Linked DNA regions of Homo sapiens: all the other regions are linked to region 1. The links are contacts of gene promoters, found by promoter capture Hi-C in blood cells and fetal thymus (Javierre and others, 2016). All regions are on one chromosome and are shown on one strand. The core of a region is centred on a gene start or on the middle of the fragment in contact, and the rest is flanking DNA. Distances in the headings are between cores, read along the strand shown. Region 1 holds the start of NSD3 (nuclear receptor binding SET domain protein 3). Region 2 overlaps TACC1 (transforming acidic coiled-coil containing protein 1). Region 3 has its middle 24 kb from the start of ADRB3. Region 4 has its middle 7.9 kb from the start of TACC1. Region 5 has its middle 3.7 kb from the start of EIF4EBP1. Region 6 has its middle 67 kb from the start of TACC1. Region 7 overlaps EIF4EBP1 (eukaryotic translation initiation factor 4E binding protein 1).

Region 1 (2,651 bases), core at 112-2,611:
TCAAATTATGGCCATGTCTCTCCCTGCCTCCCTTCCATAACACAAACACATCGCCTTCTCCCTCAAAACAGTAAAACCCACACCTCCCCATTTCACAACAATCACAATCCCATAACCACCAGCTTCTCTATTCTCTAGCCTTGAAAGAAAGACACAGAATACACACAAATACAGGAACAAAAGGCCTCCCTTCCTAACACTTTAACGACCTCCATCCCCTTCTCTTCCTCCCACTCTGACGCTAAGTCGATCGTTCTCATCCCTGTCATCATTCAGTTAATTTCCTTCCCTAGCCCAATCCTGTCTTCCAGTTTCCTGCGTCTATTTCCCATTCTCCTATTGCAGCCTGCCTCATCCCCTTTCCTAATCCACCTTTTCCTTCACTTCCATTCCTCATTTCTCCCTTCATTCCCATAAAATGCCCCATTTCTCCAGCAAATTTATCCCCTTCTCCCAGACTCTTCTGGTTCCTACACTCCATCCCCAAATCTCCCTATTTATCAGTCCACCCAGGTCTGTAATCTCCATGCAACTCTTCTCCCCTTTCCCTGCCCCTCCCCGATCCATCCTTATCCCCGCCCCCATCCCACTTTCCCAATTCCCAGCTCAGCGCCACTCCGACTCCCATCCCACTCCCCACCTCCCCTGGCCCACCCCCCAATTCCCTCCACACCCCCCACCTTGCCATCTGCTCCTCCGTCAGGACTCCCCTCGAGCCCTTTCAGGCCACCCGCTTCCCCTTCCATTCCTCCTGGGGTCTGGCGCTCCATCCCTAGGTCGCCCCCTCCCCGTCGTTCCCTCCTCAGCCCTTCCTAGCACTACACACGCGCGCGCGCGCACACACACACACACACACACACACACATACACACACGCACACGCACTTTACCTTCAGTTTGTTCCATTCTAACCCCCCGGCCGTGTCAGTGCGATCACAGGAGAGACACGGAGGCCCGGAGTGGGGCTGGGGTGCGGGCAGCCGCTGGGGCCGCGCGAGGAGGAGGCGGAACCGAGCTAGGCCGCATGAAATCCCCGGGCTAGATTTTCCCCGCGCCGGACGCCTCTGCCATGGCGGCCGGCACTGAGGAGGGCCACGGCCGGGCCGGGCCGGGCGTGCTGCGGGAAGAGGAAGGCTCGGGAGGTGGGATGGGAAGGGGAGGCCGAGGGACGGGGGTCGCCGCGCCGCCGCTGCTGCCAGAGAGGAGCCTGCGGCTGGCAGCCCGGCCTGGGTAGCACGGTCCTCGGCGCTCGGCTCGGAATTCGCACGCCTCTCCGCGGCGACCTGTGCACAGCCCCCTCGGCCTCCGCCTCCGTGCTGGCCGCCGCCGCCGCCTCTCCCGCCGCCGCCGCGCACAAAGCCCCCCCACCCCGACTCTCGGGGCGCCGCCGCCGCCAAATCCTCAGCCCCTCATTGGCCGCGGGCCGCGGCGCCTGCCGGGAAATGCAGTCCCTGGTTCGGGACGCTGGGGCTCCGGAGGAAGCGGCGAGTCGGCGGGGCGGAGGGGGCGGGAGCGCGAACCAGGAACGCCCGCGGCAGCTAGCGTCTGGACGACTAGGGAGACCGGGCGAGAGGGCCGAGGAACGAGGGACGGGGAGGGACTGTACGTGGGAGAGTGACACACAAAACACCCCGGGAAGCCGGAGGAGGCGTGGAAAGGTGGGGCCCGGGAGGTAAAACTGGGATCGGCGCGTTCAGTGAGGCTGATTAAAGAACAACGCGCAACCAGCGCCATACGGCGCTCCTCAGGGTGACTCGGCTCTCTAGCTCTTAAGGGTTAGAAGCGACCCTCGCACGGTCCCCGGTGGGTCACCGCGCGAGGGCGGGGCAGTCCAGGCGACCCCTCGGCCGTCTCCCGTCCTACGGCTGTCAGGGAAGGGCTCCGGTTCCGGTAGGGTCTGCATTTGGAAAGCCGGGGGCGATGCAAGACCGCCTTGGCGTCGTCTCCCTCTCAGCCCCGGCTGAGCTGTCGGATGGTCCCCCTCCCCCGGTTGCAAGCAGTAGGAGACCCGGCCGGCGGCGCCGGCTCGCCGAGGGAGCGCCTCGACCTCCCCGGCAGGCGCCGGCCCCGCGCGCCTCTTCCTGCTCTGCTGCGGCCCGGAGGCTTGTGGGTAACCGGGAGGACGACGTCAGCGCCCGCCGCATCCCCGGGTGCCCCCCAGCCGCGGGGGACCGCGACGGCTCCGTGACCGTCACGTGCCGGAGGCCGCGGCTGCTCGCGGCCAGACCTTCGCATCGAGGGACGTGAGGGACATTTGTCCTAGAGGGCCCAAGATAAGAACGAGAGGAAGAACCGGGAGGCAACTCTCCGTCATCCTCTAGCCCCCCGCATCCTAGGAAACGTATGGAAAACAATGGAAGGTTAAGTGTGTGCACAGTGATCTGGCCCTGCAGGAGTGTGCCGACCAGGTGATATTTCCTGGGGCCTGGTGATAAGGATTTGGAAGGTTACAGCACAGAGACGTGAACGTAAAAAGGAAACAGAGGCAGCAAGCAAATGAGGAAACCGATACTCTGTTCTGAGAATAAAGCCATTTTACCGCTAGACGTCATACTCTGTAGACGTTATAGTGCTGGATGTCTTTGGTACTATTACAAGAAATTAGATATCTCTATCTTTAAATATCACTTAAGGAAATTAAATGATTTCTAC
Region 2 (2,651 bases), core at 67-2,566, 420 kb after region 1:
GTCCTGCCATGGATGTGTCTCATGCACCCAGCATGCTGGCTGAGATTGCTCTGTCTGGAGGCCCCTCTCTTGCTGAACATTCCTCCCTCTTCTTCTTTATCCAGCATCAGCTTCTCAGCTCCATGTGGGTGGTTGCTACTTTGTGAGAGAGGCAGTTGGTATTTTGAATTTTCCAGTAATTATTTCTGAAGAGATGCACATTATGGTTGTTTGGCAGCAACAGATTGAAGTTACACAATCCCAGATCTCTGCACAGGAGCCCCATCTGTTAGCACGTGCTCTTTCCCCCCTTGCTCTTCCTGCCAGAATAGGTTGGGGATGGGGGAGAAGTTTTGTGGGGAGGGCCTTCTATGATTTCTGTCTGTGGAAGGGGATTTCTACTCTGTCTAAAATATAACCTCAAACAAATCCAGATGGTTCCAGAACCCATGGGCATCTCATGAGTGAGAAGAGAAGACACATTCATTGCTGGATTGGCTTCTCTGGAGGAGGCTTTGGCTTCCTGGTGGGTGGACACTTCCTGATAAGCAAGTCCCATCCTCTTACCTTATAATCTTGGCCTTTAGAGATACGGTTTGGGTCTCTTTTTATTTTTCTTCCTTTTTTTTTTTTAGAGACAGGGTCTTGCTGTGTTGCCCAGGCTGGAGTGTGGTGGTACAATCATAGCTCACTGCAGCCTCAACTCCCAGTCTTAAGGGATCCTCCTGACTCAGCCTTCCGAGTAGCTGGGACTACAGGCGTGTACCACTACACCTGGCTTGGGTGTCTTTTTAAATAAAATAGCATAAAGTGCTGTTTTGGAAATTTGAAGTGCTTTCTTCATCCTTAGTACAAACTTTTTTCAGTTTACCAAGTGGTTTTCCAGATTATTCTTTACCTGTAGAGTCTTAGGTTTTAGGGGGAGCCTCTCTCAGGAGTTAGAGGCTTATCTCAGGAGAACAGCAGTGTAGCTGGTGCCCTGTCTCTTAAAAAAGCAATGAAATTTGCCCTACCGTGACTTCTGGGTAATGTTTTTGTTTGGGGGTTTTTTGGAGGTTAGGAAGGGGTTTAAACAGGTAGTTTGTTGTCTGGGTTCTGCGTGTGTGTGTGTGTGTGTGTGTGTGTGTGTGTGTATGTGTATTTTTCTGCTTTGGTTGGTGAGACAGCTTAAAACTATGATGTACCTAAGAGGATGGTCTGCCTTGACTCACCCACTCAGAATCCCGCTGACCCACCCCTCTCCCATGCTTCCGGGGATCCTGGGCCCCAGCAGTTGTTGGGGAAATGTGAGCTATGCAGCCCATACCCTTAGATTGTATCCCGCATTCCTGGAAAAGGGCCTATTGTACGGTTGTTCCAACCCTGGACAATAAATTGTGTACTTCTCCATTTTAAGGCTGATGACTAAGTGAGAACGAACATATATAAAATACACTTCAACTTTGGAGGAATCAGAGAGACTGGGAACCCAAAGACATGAAACTGGGGGAAAAAAACACTCAAATTTTGGACTTTTAGCATTAATGCTAATATACATCTGATTAACAGTCTCCTCAGGGCAGACCACTTGAGCAGAAAGGGTTGGTGCCAGAATCACGCTTGTTTCCCTCCTGAAGCCCTTGATTCAGTGTGGGGGAGGAGAGCTGGGAGGGCAAGACCAAGGCACGGAAAGGAGGAGTGGGACCTTCAGGGCAAAGGGCCAAGGGAAGAGCTATGCCAAGCCATCCCCCAGCCGTTAGCCTAGAGCTGAGCTGCGGCATCACTGAACAATTAGCTAGGCCTTCTCAGTATGCGACAGATGAGGTGAGGAGGAGTCCTTTATGTATCAGACACTTGCCCTGCAGTGGGCACTGATTGAGCATCAGCTCTGTCTTGGACGCTCAGTTTCTGCTCCCAGGGATACAAAGAGTAAGGCCCCTGTGGGGCTCCGAGTCTGGAGGGAGCTAGCCCTGTCCTGTTTCCCAGACCTCTTGGCCGCCTTGGCATCCCAAGAAGTTTTAGCAGCAAAAGATAGGGAATTTGTGAGGGAAGAAATTCCCCCGCAAATCTGGAGGTCAAATGTTAAAAGGAAGAAGGCAAATGTTAAAAGTTAGAATTTTAAAAATCCCCCTGCCCACAAAGTAAAAAAAGCCTTTTGGGCTTGACAATTATAACTCTAGGATGTTTCATATACCATACTTGGCTACATCTGTTGTGGAAAAGAGGGATGATGTCATTTTTTTCACCTCTTTCTGTAAATAGAATTTATGTAGCACATGTGGGCTTCCTCAAGAGAAATTTAAAACCCCAAATTGATGGGATGGTGAGACCTACCACCTCTCTCAAGCATGTGTCTCTCCAAGTGACACACATAAGACACTATTTAAAGCATGTACTTTGGATGTGTGTGCTGGCTCACTCCTGTAATCCCAGCACTTTGGGAGGCCAAAGCAGGAGGATTGCTTGAGACCAGCCTGGGCAACAAAATGAGACCCCGACTCTACCAAAAACAAACAAACAAAAAATTAGCAGGGCATGATGGCTTGTGCCTTTAGTCCCAGCTGCTCAGAAGGCTAAGGTGGGAGGATCACTTGAGCTTGGGAGGTTGAGGCTCCAGTGAGCCGTAATCGCCCCACTGTACTCCAGCCTGGACAACAGAGCAAATCTGTGTGGTATAGTTGAACATTTTACTA
Region 3 (2,651 bases), core at 55-2,554, 390 kb before region 1:
AGGAGGCTGAGACAGGAGAATCACTTGAACTCAGGAGGCAGATGTTGCAGTGAGCTGAGATCAAGCCACTGCACTCCAGCCTGGGCAAAGAGCAAGACTCCATCACAAAATAAATAAATAAATAAATAAATAAATTATTTCATCAACATTTTGTAATTTTCAGCTTGCAGAGCCTGTGCAAGTTTTGTTCAGCTTATGCTTAAGTGTTTCACTTTCTTTGGACCATTTGTAAATGATGCAGTGTTTTAAATTTCAGTTTCCACATGTTTGTTGTTAGTATACATAAACATGATGGATTTTTGTGTGTTGATCTTGTATCTTGTAACCTGTTTAATTCACAACCAATTATAAGAGGGTTTTGGTTTGGGGGTCAGCTTTATTTTGTAGATTATTTCGGATTTTCTTTATAGACAATCATGTCATCTGCAAAGAGAAACAGTTTTATTTCTTCCTTTCCATTTCATATGTCCTTTATTTCTTTTTCTTGTCTTATTGCAGTGGCTAGAACTTTCAGAACTAGGGTGAATAAGAGAGGGGAGAGCAGGCATCCTTACCTTTTTCCCAGTCTTAGGGAGAAAGCATTCAGTCTTTCACCATTCACTATGATGTGGGCTGTCAGGTTTTTTGTAGATGCTCTTTATCAAGTTAAGGTAGTTGCCCTCTATTCCTAACTTGCTGAGAGTTTTTATCATAAATGTGCGCTAGATTTCATCAAATGCTTTTTCTTCACCAACTGATATGATTATATGATTTTTTTCTTTAGCTTGTTGATATGGTGGACTTTTTAAATATCTAAACTCTATTGATCACTTGATATGGAAGACTTGTTTTTTTACCTTCCTTTCTTGATGGCAGACTTTTGAGTGTTGTACCAGCCTATATAATGGGAATAAGTCCTACTTGGTTACAGTATATAATTATTGTTATACTTATATTAGTAATTCTATTTTTATTTTATTTTTTTGAGACAGAGTCTCACTCTGTCACCCAAGATGGAGTGCAGTGGCACGATTACAGCTCACTGCAGCCTCGACCTCTCCAGGGTCAGGTGATCTTCCCACCTCAGCCTCCGGAGTAGCTAGGACTACAGGCATGCACTACCATCCCTGGCTCATTTTTCTATTTTTTGTAGCAATGGAGTTTCACCATGCTGCCCAGGCTGGTCTGAAACTCCTGGGTTCAAGAGATCTGCCTACCATGGCCTGCTAAAGTGCTAGGATTACAGGCATGAGCCACTGTGCTGGAGCTTATATTTATAATTCTTTTACGTTGATAGATTCAATTTGCTAATATTTTATTAAGGATTTTACATCTAAGTTCATGGGAGATATTGCTCTAGAGTTTTCCATTTTAGTACTGCCTTTGTCTGTTTTGTTGTTGTTGTTGTTGTTGTTTGTTTTGGTTTTTTTTTTAGATGGAGTCACACTCTGTTGCCGGGCTGGAGTAGAGTGGCGTGATCTCGGCTCACTGCAACCTCTGCCTCCAGGTTCAAGCGATTCTCCAGCCTCAGCCTCCCCAGTAGCTGGGATTACAGGCACCTGCCACCAAGCCCAGGTAATTTTTGTACTGTTAGTAGAGACGGGGTTTCACTATGTTGGCCAGGATTGTCTCGATCTCCTGACCTTATGATCTGCCTGCCTCGGCCTCCCAAAGTGCTGGGATTACATGCATGAGCCACCGCACCCGGCCCTTTGTCTGTTTTTGGTCTCATAAAATTGGCCGGGAACAGTGGCTCATACCTGTAATCCCAGCACTTTGGGAGGTCAAGGAGGGTGGATTGCTTGAGGTCAGGAGTTAGAGACCAACTTGGCCAACAAGTTGAAACCTTGTCTCTACTAAAACTACAAAAATTAGCTGGGTGTGGTGGCTTACACCTGTAATCCCAGCTACTTGGGAGGCTGAGGCAGGAGAATCACTTGAACCTGGGAGGTGGAGATTGCAGTGAGCCAAGTTCACACCATTGCATTCCAGCCTGGGTGACGAGAGTGAAACTCCATCCCAAATAATAATAATAATAAGACAATACTGGTGTCATAAAATCAGTTAGCAAGTGTTCCCTCCTCTATTTTCTGGAAAAGGTTGTGCAAAAGAGATGTCTGCTGTTCTATGAGTGTTTGAATGAATTATCCAGTGAAACCATCCAGGCCTGCAGATTCCTCTTTTGGGAGAATATCTATTTTATCTTGATCTCAACCTCTGTGTCCACCAGATCACAAAGGCTTTGGCCAAGTTATAGAATCTAGAACTGCAAAAGGCTTTGGAAATCATCAGGTCCCACATCCTTCACCACATATGAAGAGAGGCCTGGGCCAGGTGCAGTGGCTCATGCCTGTAATCCTAGCACTCTGGGAGGCCAAGGCAGGTGAATTGCTTGAGTCCAGGAGTTCCAGACCAGACTAGACAACATGGCAAAACCCCATCAATACAAAAAAATTACCCAGATGTGGTGGCATGTGCCTGTGTCTGTTCTCACACTGCTATAAAGACATACCCAAGACTGGGTAATTTATAAAGAAAAGAAGTTTAATTAACTCACAATTCCACAGGTCTGAGGAGGCCTCAGGAAACTTACAATCTTGGAGGAAGGGGAAGCAAACATGTCTTTCTTCACATGGCAGCAGGAAGGAGAAGAATGAGAGCCAAGTGAAGGG
Region 4 (2,651 bases), core at 71-2,570, 400 kb after region 1:
GATGTGGGGTGAGGGAATTAGGCTCTACCATGGTGATCTTGTGGAAATTCAAAGAGTAGAGGTGCATAGACACACAATGTTAAAGAAGCATTATAGTTTTTCTTTTTTATCTTTGTGTGTGTGCATGTGTGTAGAGATGGGCTCTCACTGTGTGGTCCAGGCTGGTCTCAAACTCCTGGGCTCAAGCGATCCTCCTGCCTTCGTCTCCCAAAGTGTTGGGATTACAATCATGAGCCACCACACCTGGCCTTTTGCTTTTTTATCTTAATAATTAAAATTGTGTGTGTGTGTGTGTGTGTGTATGTGTGTGTTTACAATGGGTACAGAAGGAACAGAGCCATGAATTATGTTTCACAATCTGTGTAGGAGATATCTTTTGACAGTTTTATCCAGTTTCCAACAGTTAAATATTTTTGTTTCCTCTAAGAAGACAGAGGTCAGTGTGACCCCCTCGCTCCATAAATGGACATTTCACTTACTGAGTTGAGGCCAGCTGAACCACTCCTGAGCCACAGGCAGGAATCTCTTTTGTTCTCTGGGCAGAGCTGAATTTACTATGAAGCTGAGGAAGCCTAAGCTTCAGTCCCCTCCCTTGCATGGGCCCCTTCATACTAGTGTGGCCCTAGCACTGTGTTCATGGGGTCCTTTAGCATTTTTCTTAAAGAGTGCTTCCCCAGTTTTTAGGCTTCCTGCTTCACAAAATCAGGCCTTGGCAACCTGTTTGATGCCTCCTTTCTTTGCTGAGCCTTGCTACTTTTTCCCAGATGGGGAGAGGCTCCTGGGTGTCATTTCCCTCATCAACATAGTTTCTTGGAAGAAACCACCCTAAAAGGAAGTATAGCGAAAGAGCATCCCAAAGAAAGAGATGTTAAAATTAATCCTTTTGCACCTCCCACATAAAGTATGCCTTTTATGCTCTGGCCCAATTTTTTGTGCCTTTGAGGATTCTCATTTGTATCAGTAGGGGTCCTTGGGTTTTTTTTTTTTTTTTCTTTTCTTTTTAGACAAGGTCTCGCTCTGTCACCCAATCTGGAATGCAATGCCACAATCACGGCTTACTTCAGCCTTGACCTTCTGGGCTCAAGCGATCCTCCTGGGCTCAAGATTAGCTGGGACTACAGGCGAACACCACCACGCCTGGCTACTTTTTAATTTTTTTATAGAGATGGGGTTTTGCTATGTTGCTCAGGCTGGTCTCAAAGTCCTGGGCTCAAGTTATCCTCCTGCCTCAGCCTCCAAAAGTGCTGGGATTATAGGAAGATGCCACTATGCCTGGCTGAAATGCTCTTTTTTTATGGTACTTTGGCTCAACTGGCAAATGCCTTCTTGAAATGAGCATTTCACACTTTGGTCACCACACAGTCACTTAGATGAAACCCACAGGCTGCCCAGTAACATGGGCTCCCACTGGGCATTTGGGGAAGGGCACACCCTGCCTGGAGTGGTGAGCACTGCTAGGCCTGCTCTCCGCCCTTTTCCACCCTCCGGGTGTCTTCAAAGCTGGCTGTTTTCTACACTAACTTCTGGCAGGTCTGGATTTTCCGTATAAGGGCTTTTTTGGCCAGTACTTCCTTATACTGAAGAATTTTATATTAGTTCCCTTTCAGATTCGAAAATCAATCTTTAGTCAACCTAAAACATTATTCCTGGAGTGGGGCTTGACTGTATGTGGGGAAGAGGAGAGGGAGAGACTGATGCAAATATGCACACACACATACTTTTTGCATACAATTTCAGGGAGGCCAGGACCTTCTGAAACCCTTCCTTGCTAAGCCTCTGCTGTAGAGGGTGAAATGCAGCCAAGTTAACTTGTTAACAACAACAAAAAGGCCGTAACAATACTTTCCTCCTGAGATTGTAGGAGTAAGTGGGGGAGATTAAATGAGACGATTCATGTAAAGTGTAGTGTCTAACACATAGTAAGCAGTTATAATTGTTCACTTTTCTTTTGGGGCTTAAATGATCTTACTTGTTTTCACGAGTTCCTTAGGTAATAACAATACTAACAGCCTTTGTTTTTCCATGGCCTGTTGTTTGCCTTTTAACTTGAAGGCACACAGTCAGAAGCTTCATTTTTTTAAATGTAACCAAATCTATCTTTATTTTGTGTCTGATTTCATTAATTACTTGTAAGTTGGATCCTCATCCTTCCTACAGAGCTCTGATAGATTCTGTTGCTTGTAGACTGTTTTCTCCCAATGGTTCGATTTTTATTATTTAGTCATCTAATCCATCTGGAATTTATCCTGGTATATGCTCTGAGGTAAGGGTTTAACTTGATCTTTTTTCCCATTGCCAGCCAACTATGCTCCAATCATAAATCTTCCTTCTCCTTACATATTGTAACATGTTCTTTATATTTTTGTTGTTTGTTCTTTTTTTTTGAGATAGAGTCTCGCTCTGTTGCCCAGGCTGGAGTGCAGTGGCACGATCTTGGCTCACTGCAACCTCCGCCTCCCGGGTTCAAGCCATCTTTTTTGGTATATAATAAATTCCTGTATCTTGTAAGATCTTTTCCTGGGCTTTCTGTTCTGTGTTACAGAACAAAGATCTGGCTATTTTTGCATAAATGTGTCTCAATGTCTTGTAGGACTAGTCTATTCTTCACTCTTCTTGTTGGTGTTGTTTTTTTTTGTTTTTTTTTTACAAAA
Region 5 (2,651 bases), core at 65-2,564, 360 kb before region 1:
AATTTAAAAATCACTAGATTATTTATTTATACTTAGAGATGAAGCCTCACTATGTTGCCCAGGCTGGCCTCAAACTCCTGAGCTCAAGTGATTCTCCCACCCCAGCCTCTCAAATAGCTAGGACTACAGGCGCGTACGTGCCTGTGCCTTGCTTCTTTGTAATACTCTTTATAAAATACCGGGAAACCTAAGTGTTTCCCTGAGTTTTGTGAGCCACTCTAGCAAATGAATCAAACCCAAGGCCCGGGTTGTCAGAAGCACAGATCACAGGCTGTACTTTTGACTGACATCTCAAGTGGGGGGCAGTCTTGTAGGACTGAGCCCTTAACCTGTGGGATCTTGCACTATCTCCAGGCAGATAATGTCAGAATTTGACTGAATTAGAGGACATCGAGCTGGTGTCCCTTGGAGAATCTACCTTGGCCAAATTGCTCGGTTGCTGTGTAAGGAGGAAACCTCACCCAGCTGGTGTCTGAGTGTGGAGTTGGACATGTGAGAAGAAGAAGAAGAATTTGGGTTTTTTTCCTATGTCCTTTTCTACTCAATTACAAGACTTGATATTGTCAACCTAAGGAAGAAGCTGAGGCAAAATTAATATAAGTAGGGAGTTTATTTGGGCTAAACTTGAGGACTGCAACCCAGGAGCATAGATTCATGTCCTGAATATACACTCCAATTAACAGGAATTACAAGTTTACAAGTTACAAGTTTAAGGCAATAGGTTCTGATACAAAGTGGTCTGTCAAGAAATCTCATTGGTTTACAGAAATAGTATCAATTAATCATTCTCCATACATTGATTTTTAATTTTTAATTTTATTTTATTTTTGAGATGAGGCACTCTGTCACCCAGGCTGGAGTGCAGTGGCGTGATCTTGGCTCAGTGCAACCTCTGCCACCCAGGTTCAAGCGATTCTCCTGTCTCAGCTTCCCTAGTAGCTGGGACTACAGGCGCATACCACCACACCTGGCTACTTTTTGCATTTTTAGTAGAGACGGGGTTTCACCATGTTAGCCAGACTGGTCTCAAACTCCTGACCTCAGGTGATCCGCCTGCCTCGGCCTCGCAAAGTGCTAGGATTATAGGCGTGAGCTACAACTCCCGGCCACATTTTAAAAATTTTTTTGTAGAGATGAAGGGGGAGGGTCTCTCTGTTGCCCAGGCTGGTCTCAAACTCCTGGCCTCAAGCCATCCTCTCACCTTGGCTTGCCAAAGTGTGGAAATCATAGGAGTAAGCCACTGCACCCAGCCTTGGCTATACACTGTTAAGTTATAGTGTCCACACCCTATATAGTCTTTAGTGCAGCATTATTATTAATAGGTTAATTTATGGCTACTTGTGACAATAGCAAGCAGTTTCAAGAGATGAATACATAGCTCAAAAGGGGGTAGTGGGACGTGATTGCTGTCTCATTTTAATGTCTAGGCCTGATAATTTAAAAGGATTCCCATTCCTCAGATAAAAGCTGTTTTTTCCATATGAATGAGTTCCTGCTCTAGAAAAAGGTAGAGGGGCCAGTCACAGTGGCTCATGCCTGTAATCCCAAAACTTTAAGAGGCTGAGGAGGGAGGATCACTTGAGGCCAGGAGTTTGAGACCAACCTAGGTAACATAGCAAGATCTCATTTCTACAAAAATTTTTTTTTTTTTGAGATGGAGTCTTGCTGTTGCCCAGGCTAAAGTGTAGTGGCAGGATCTTGGCTCACTGCAACCTATGCCTCCTGGGTTCAAGTGATTCTCCTGTCTCAGCCTCCTGAGTAGCTGGGATTACAGGCACACACCACCACGCCTGGCTAATTTTTGTATTTTTAGTAGAGACAGGGTTTCACCATGTTGGCCAGGTGGTCTCCTGACCTCAGGTGATCTGTCTGCCTCGGCCTCCCAAAGTGCTGGGATTACAGGCATGAGCCACCTCGCCCGGCCAAAAAATTCTTTTCTTTAATTAGCCAAGTGCAGTGGCATGCACCTGTAATCCCAGCCACTGGGGAGGCTGAGGTGGGAGGATGGCTTGAGCCCAGGAGTTGGAAGCTGCACTGAGTTATGATTGTGCCTATAATTAGCCACTGCACTCCAGCCCAGGCAACAGAGTGAAACTCTTTTTTTTTTTGAGATGGAGTCTCGCTCTGTCACCCAGGATGGGTGCAGTGGCACGATCTCAGCCCACTGCAACTTCTGCCTCCCAGTTTGAAGCGATTATCCTGCCTTAGCCTCCCGAGTAGCTGGGACTACAGGCGTCTGCCATCATGCCCGGGTAATTTTTTTTTTTCGTATTTTTAGTAGAGATGGGGTTTCACCGTGTTAGCCAGGATGGTCTCAATCTCCTGACCTCGTGATCTGCCCCCCTCGGCCTACCAAAGTGTTGGGATTACAGGCGTGAGCCACCACACCCGGCCTGAAACTCTCTCTTTTTTGAAACAAGGTCTTACTATGTTGCCCAGGCTGGTCTCTGAACTCCCGGCCTCAAGCAATCCTCTGGCCTTGTAATCCCAGCTAGGGCTGGGATTACAAGTGCACATCGCTGCAACCAGCAAGGCCTGGTCTATTTTTATCTTATATTATTTATTTATTTTTTGAGCCCTGGCTGGAGTGCAGTGGTGCAATCTTGGCTCATGGCAACCTCCACCTCTGGGGCTCAGGTCATCTTCCTACC
Region 6 (2,651 bases), core at 114-2,613, 340 kb after region 1:
AAGGGCAGAAGTTTTAAACAGGTGAAATCTTCAGAGTGAAAATCAAGGATATGATTAAAAGTTTAGGGATGGTGGAAAAGACAGCTATGGACTGAGTCTACGAGTGGGTTTTTCCTCTTCCCTTTAGCAGCACCTGCTGTAGCCTCCTCCTCCTACTCTTCCTCCTCCTTCTCCTTCTTCTTCTGTTTTGAGACAGGGTCTCAGTCTGTATCCCAGGCTGGAGTGCAGTGCCGCAATCATGACTTAGTGCAGCCTTGACCTCCTGGGCTCAAGCAATGCTCCTACCTCAGCCTCTGAGTAGCTGGGACTACAGGCACCCGCCACCACACCCACCTAATTTTTAATTTTTTTTTTGTAGAAAGGAGTCTCACTACGTTGCCCAGGCTGGTCAGCAACTTTCGGCCTCAAGCCATCCTCCTGGCTAATTTTTAAAATTTTTTTGTAGAGACAAGGTCTCGTCGTGTTGTCCAGGCTGGTCTCAAGCTCCTGAGCTCAAGTGATCCTCTCCTCTTGGCCTCCCAAAGTGCTGAGTAATTTGCAGAGCCCAAGACAATCCCCGAGTCTACCCGGGGATGGCACAGGGTCAGCAGGAGACAATAAGCTTATTAATCACAGAGTATCTGGCACATATTAAGTAGGTGCTTAATATGTATGTATCAAATGAATGAATGATGTGAGTGTATCAACAGAGATTCTTTGTTTTTCCCCCGGGATTTCTCTGATTTGCCAGGACTCCAAGTCTGATTGGCTTGGGTAGGAGGAAGAAGAGTCCTTGGGGCCGCCCAGGTGCTTCAGGCAAGGTGTCTCCCTTCATCCTTATAAAACCCTTTACGCCCTTCCGGTGTGTGCAACCGAATGGATGGTGGAGGGAACCCTAAAGAGAGAAATGAAAAAGTACATAATATCTTGTATTTGGAATGGAAGTCCTCCTTTTGTAGAAGTATGTGTGTTATTGATAATGGCTAGGGGAGAAACAAGATAAGATCAATTTCACTAAAGTACCTTCGTCCCTCCTCCCTCCCTTCTTTCCTCCCTCCTCCCTCCCTTTACAGTCAGTAGTTCAGATTTACAATCTCTTACCCTAGAGCCGGGTGTACTTCGGGATTCTGGATTTTCTCAGGTTTTAGGAAGGTAATGAGAGGTGACAGCGTGCTGGCAGTCCTCACAGCCCTCGCTCGCTCTCGGCGCCTCCTCTGCCTGGGCTCCCACTTTGGCCGCACTTGAGGAGCCCTTCAGCCTGCCACTGCACTGTGGGAGCCCCTTTCTGGGCTGGCCAAGGCCGGAGCCGGCTCCCTCAGCTTGCGGGGAGGTGTGGAGGGAGAGGCGCGGGCGGGAACCGGGGCTGCGCGCGGTGCTTCCGGGCCAGCGCGAGTTCCGGGTGGGCATGGGCTTGGCGGGCCCCACCGGCCCCGGGCAGTGAGGGGCTTAGCACCTGGGCCAGCAGCTGCTGGGCTCAATTTCTCGCCGGGCCTTAGCTGCCTTCCCGCGGGGCAGGGCTCGGGACCTGCAGCCCGCCATGCCTGAGCCTCCCCCGCCTCTGTGGGCTCCTTTGCGGCCCTAGCCTCCCCGACGAGCGCCGCCCCCTGCTCCACGGCGCCCAGTCCCACCGACCACCCAAGGGCTGAGGAGTGCAGGCGCACGGCGTGGGACTGGCAGGCAGCTCCACCTGCAGCCCCGGTGCCCGATCCACTGGGTGAAGCCAGCTGGGCTCCTGAGTTTGGTGGGGACGTGGAGAACCTTTATGTCTAGCTAAGGGATTGTAAATACACCAATCTGCACTCTGTATCTAGCTCAAGGTTTGTAAACACACCAATCAGCACCCTGTGTCTATCTAGCTCAGGGTTTGTGAATGCACCAATGGACACTCTATATCTAGCTACTCTGGTGGGGACTTGGAGAACCTTTGTGTCCACACTGTATCTAGCTAATCTGGTGGGGAGGTGGAGAACCTCTGTGTCTAGCTCAGGGATTGTAAACGCACCAATCAGCACCCTGTCAAAACAGACCACTCTGCTCTCTGTAAAATGGACCAATCAGCAGGATGTGGGTGGGGCCAGATAAGAGAATAAAAGCAGGCTGCTGGAGCCAACAGTGGCACCCTGCTGGGGTCCCCTTCAACACTATGGAAGCTTTGTTCTTTTGCTCCTTGCAATAAATCTTGCTGCTGCTCACTCTTTGGGTCCACACTGCCTTTATGAGCTGTAAGACTCACCGTGAAGGTCTGCGGCTTCACTCCTGAAGCCAGCGAGACCACGAACCCACCGGGAGGAACGAACAGCTCCAGACGCGCCGCCTTAAGAGCTGTAACACTCACCACGAAGGTCTGCAGCTTCACTACTGATCCAGCGAGACCACAAACCCACCAGAAGGAAGAAACTCCGAACACATCCAAACATCAGAACAAACAAACTCCGGACACGCTGCCTTTAAGAACTGTAACACTCACCGCAAGGGTCCCCGACTTCATTCTTGAAGTCAGTGAGACCAAGAACCCACCAATTCCGCACACAGTGACACAACCCAATATACCTTTTATTATATCAAACCCCGAGTGGGCTAGGGGAGCACCTTGTAATCAAACATATAAACCCTTTCTGCAGCGAAATGTAAGAATATTCAAGCTAAGTAGGATAGTACGTAACTTCAGGTCA
Region 7 (2,651 bases), core at 62-2,561, 320 kb before region 1:
TCACAGCTTGGTGCTGTCCTCATGATAGTGAATGAGTTCTCTCGAGATCTGGTTGTTGTAAAGTGTGGGAGCGCCACTCCACCCTCTCTCTTGCTCCTGCTTCCTCCATGTGACATGCCTGCTCCCGCTTTGCTTTCCACCATGACGAAAAGCCCCCTGAGGCCTCCCCAGAAGCCAAGCTGAGGCCGGCGTCATGCTTGTACAGCCTGCAGAACCGCGAGCCAGTTAAACCTCTTTTCTTGGCTGGGCACGGTGGCTCGCACCTGTAATCCCAGCACTTTGGGAGGCTGAGGAGGGTGGATCATCTGAGATCAGGAGTTCGAGACCAGCCTGGCCAACATGGCAAAACCCCGGGTCTACTAAAAATACAAAAATTAGCTGGGTGTGGTGGTGGGTGCCTATAATCCCAGCTACTCTTTTGGGAGGCTTAGGTAGGAGAATCGCTTGAACCCAGGAGGCGGAGGTTGCAGTGAGCCGAAATTGGGCCACTGCACTCCAGCCTCGGAGACAGAGTGAGACTCCATCTCAAAAAAAAAAAACAAAAAAACAAAAAAAAACTTATTTTCTTTATAAATTACCCAACCTCAGGTATTTCTTTATAGCAATGAAAGAATGGCCTCATATACCAAGCATTCACCCATTGTTGACCTGGCCCTCTGTCCCCTCTCTCCCCAGGTGAAGAGTCACAGTTTGAGATGGACATTTAAAGCACCAGCCATCGTGTGGAGCACTACCAAGGGGCCCCTCAGGGCCTTCCTGGGAGGAGTCCCACCAGCCAGGCCTTATGAAAGTGATCATACTGGGCAGGCGTTGGCGTGGGGTCGGACACCCCAGCCCTTTCTCCCTCACTCAGGGCACCTGCCCCCTCCTCTTCGTGAACACCAGCAGATACCTCCTTGTGCCTCCACTGATGCAGGAGCTGCCACCCCAAGGGGAGTGACCCCTGCCAGCACACCCTGCAGCCAAGGGCCAGGAAGTGGACAAGAACGAACCCTTCCTTCCGAATGATCAGCAGTTCCAGCCCCTCGCTGCTGGGGGCGCAACCACCCCTTCCTTAGGTTGATGTGCTTGGGAAAGCTCCCTCCCCCTCCTTCCCCAAGAGAGGAAATAAAAGCCACCTTCGCCCTAGGGCCAAGAGTTGGGCCCCGTCTGAGCTTTTTTCAACTCTGTTTGGTAACTAACACCAGCTGCTATCTGTACAGTGCTGCTGCTTTTTTTTTTTTTTTTTTTTTGAGACGGAGTTTCACTCTTGTGGCCCAGGCTGGAGTGCAATGGCGCAATCTCAGCTGATTGCAACCTCCACCTCCTGGGTTCAAGCAATTCTCCTGCCTCAGCCTCCCGAGTAGCTGGGATTACAGGTGCCCGCCACCATGCCCAGCTAGTATTTTTTTGTATTTTTGTAGAGACAGGGTTTCACCATGTTGGCCAGGCTGGTCTCGAACTCTTGACCTCAGGTGATCCACCCGCCTTGGCCTCCCAAAGTGCTGGGATTACAGGTGTAAGCCACCGTGCCCAGCCTTGTACAGTGCTTCTAAAGCGTGGGCCTGTCCTTATTTGATTCTGACTCTGATCCTGTGGGTAAGTAGAACAACTGTTATCCTCACTTTACAGCTGAGAAGACTGGCACAAGAACAGGTAAAATCGTGCAGCTGCTGAATGGCACATGGGACTGGATTTGAGTCCTGCTACTCTTTTTTTTTTTTTTTTCCGAGACGAAGTCTTGCTCTGTCTCCCAGGCTGGAGTGCAGTGGCACAGTCCTAGCTCACTGCAGCCTCAAACTCCTAGGTTCAAGCAATCCTCCTGCTTCAGCCTCCTGAGTAGCTGGGACTACAAGTTCACACCACCACCTGGCTAAGTTTTTTGTGAGTAGAGATAAGGTCTTGCTATGTTGCCCAGGCTGGTCTTGAACTCCTGGTCTCAAGTGATCCTCCCACCTCAGCGTTCCAAATTGTTGGGATGACAGATGTGAGCCACCACGCCCAGCCCATACCCTGGTATTCTTGATCTCTTGTTTTTCAGTAGCAAGGCAGCTGCCTCGCTTCTGTGCTTTCTCCCCCTTCTCTCAACCCCAAGCCTGTCGAGTTTGGCACCTTCCCGTCAGGGCCCATTCCATGCAAGAGTCAAAGGGAAGAGCCCCTGCCTTGGCCAGTGTGGCATCTGATCTGCGGGCACTCGACCTTTGCCAATTGATCGCTTTGTGTGAGCTGTCATGTGTGGCACAAACACAGACAAGCTCTCTGCCTTGAAAATTTCATTGAAATGTAAGATTTGCCCGAAAGTAAAGGTAGCATAGGCTGGGCACAGTGGTTCAAGCCTGTAATCCCAGGATTTTGGGAGGCTGAGGTGGGAGGATTGATTGAGGCCAGGAGTGGGAGACCAGTCTGGGCAACGCAGTAAGACCCCGTCTCTACAGAAAATTTTTTAAGTAGCCAGACATGGTGGTGCACACCTGTGGTCCTAGCCACTCAGGAGGCTGAGGTGGGAGGAACACTTGAGCCCAGGAGTTCAAAGCTGTGGTGAGCCACGATTGTGCCACTGCACTCCAGTGACAGAGTAGAGGCTTCATGGAGGTGATGCTACAGCTGGACCCTGGGAATGAGTGGGTTGGGGGAGGCAGGGGCCCAGTGTTGCCAAGCTCAGATGGTCTTGG

Evidence for each region. The method cuts DNA at HindIII sites, captures the fragments that hold promoters and counts their contacts. A CHiCAGO score of 5 or more calls a contact.
Region 2: a contact is called between a fragment that was not itself captured here and the fragment with the promoter of NSD3 in region 1, in 4 of 17 cell types (neutrophils, M2 macrophages, fetal thymus and 1 more). The highest score is 5.7, in neutrophils.
Region 3: a fragment that was not itself captured here is called in contact with the fragment with the promoter of NSD3 in region 1 in 1 of 17 cell types (neutrophils); the score reaches 5.2 in neutrophils.
Region 4: a fragment that was not itself captured here is called in contact with the fragment with the promoter of NSD3 in region 1 in 9 of 17 cell types (megakaryocytes, M2 macrophages, activated CD4 T cells and 6 more); the score reaches 9.9 in megakaryocytes.
Region 5: a contact is called between a fragment that was not itself captured here and the fragment with the promoter of NSD3 in region 1, in 3 of 17 cell types (fetal thymus, non-activated CD4 T cells and activated CD4 T cells). The highest score is 5.8, in fetal thymus.
Region 6: a fragment that was not itself captured here is called in contact with the fragment with the promoter of NSD3 in region 1 in 7 of 17 cell types (M2 macrophages, M0 macrophages, M1 macrophages and 4 more); the score reaches 26.1 in M2 macrophages.
Region 7: a contact is called between a fragment that was not itself captured here and the fragment with the promoter of NSD3 in region 1, in 2 of 17 cell types (erythroblasts and endothelial precursors). The highest score is 5.8, in erythroblasts.

What each region holds. Positions count from the first base shown.
Region 1 is chr8:38,380,910-38,383,560 of GRCh38, forward strand. It overlaps NSD3 (nuclear receptor binding SET domain protein 3), which reads right to left and starts at 1,362. Exons shown (of 24, transcript NM_023034.2): 1 at 890-1,362. It also overlaps a transcript of LETM2 not described here. RefSeq lists enhancers at 1-419, 710-1,500 and silencers at 1,149-1,548, 1,579-1,728, 1,919-2,268. The HindIII fragment of the contact is 5,398 bases long and covers 1-2,651 here.
Region 2 is chr8:38,797,529-38,800,179 of GRCh38, forward strand. All of the region lies in intron 2 of TACC1 (transforming acidic coiled-coil containing protein 1), which reads left to right. Among named protein-coding and RNA genes, the nearest start is that of TACC1, 12 kb to the left of the region's middle. RefSeq lists enhancers at 1-125, 196-355. The HindIII fragment of the contact is 2,900 bases long and covers 1-2,651 here.
Region 3 is chr8:37,989,737-37,992,387 of GRCh38, forward strand. No RefSeq gene overlaps it. Among named protein-coding and RNA genes, the nearest start is that of ADRB3, 24 kb to the left of the region's middle. The HindIII fragment of the contact is 5,430 bases long and covers 1-2,651 here.
Region 4 is chr8:38,777,997-38,780,647 of GRCh38, forward strand. It overlaps a transcript of TACC1 not described here. Among named protein-coding and RNA genes, the nearest start is that of TACC1, 7.9 kb to the right of the region's middle. The HindIII fragment of the contact is 1,490 bases long and covers 576-2,065 here.
Region 5 is chr8:38,025,515-38,028,165 of GRCh38, forward strand. No RefSeq gene overlaps it. Among named protein-coding and RNA genes, the nearest start is that of EIF4EBP1, 3.7 kb to the right of the region's middle. The HindIII fragment of the contact is 5,744 bases long and covers 1-2,651 here.
Region 6 is chr8:38,718,549-38,721,199 of GRCh38, forward strand. No RefSeq gene overlaps it. Among named protein-coding and RNA genes, the nearest start is that of TACC1, 67 kb to the right of the region's middle. RefSeq lists an enhancer at 1,085-1,606. The HindIII fragment of the contact is 1,528 bases long and covers 600-2,127 here.
Region 7 is chr8:38,059,229-38,061,879 of GRCh38, forward strand. EIF4EBP1 (eukaryotic translation initiation factor 4E binding protein 1) reads left to right here. Exons shown (of 3, transcript NM_004095.4): 3 at 676-1,137. The coding sequence ends at 707. Among named protein-coding and RNA genes, the nearest start is that of EIF4EBP1, 30 kb to the left of the region's middle. The HindIII fragment of the contact is 3,672 bases long and covers 1-2,651 here.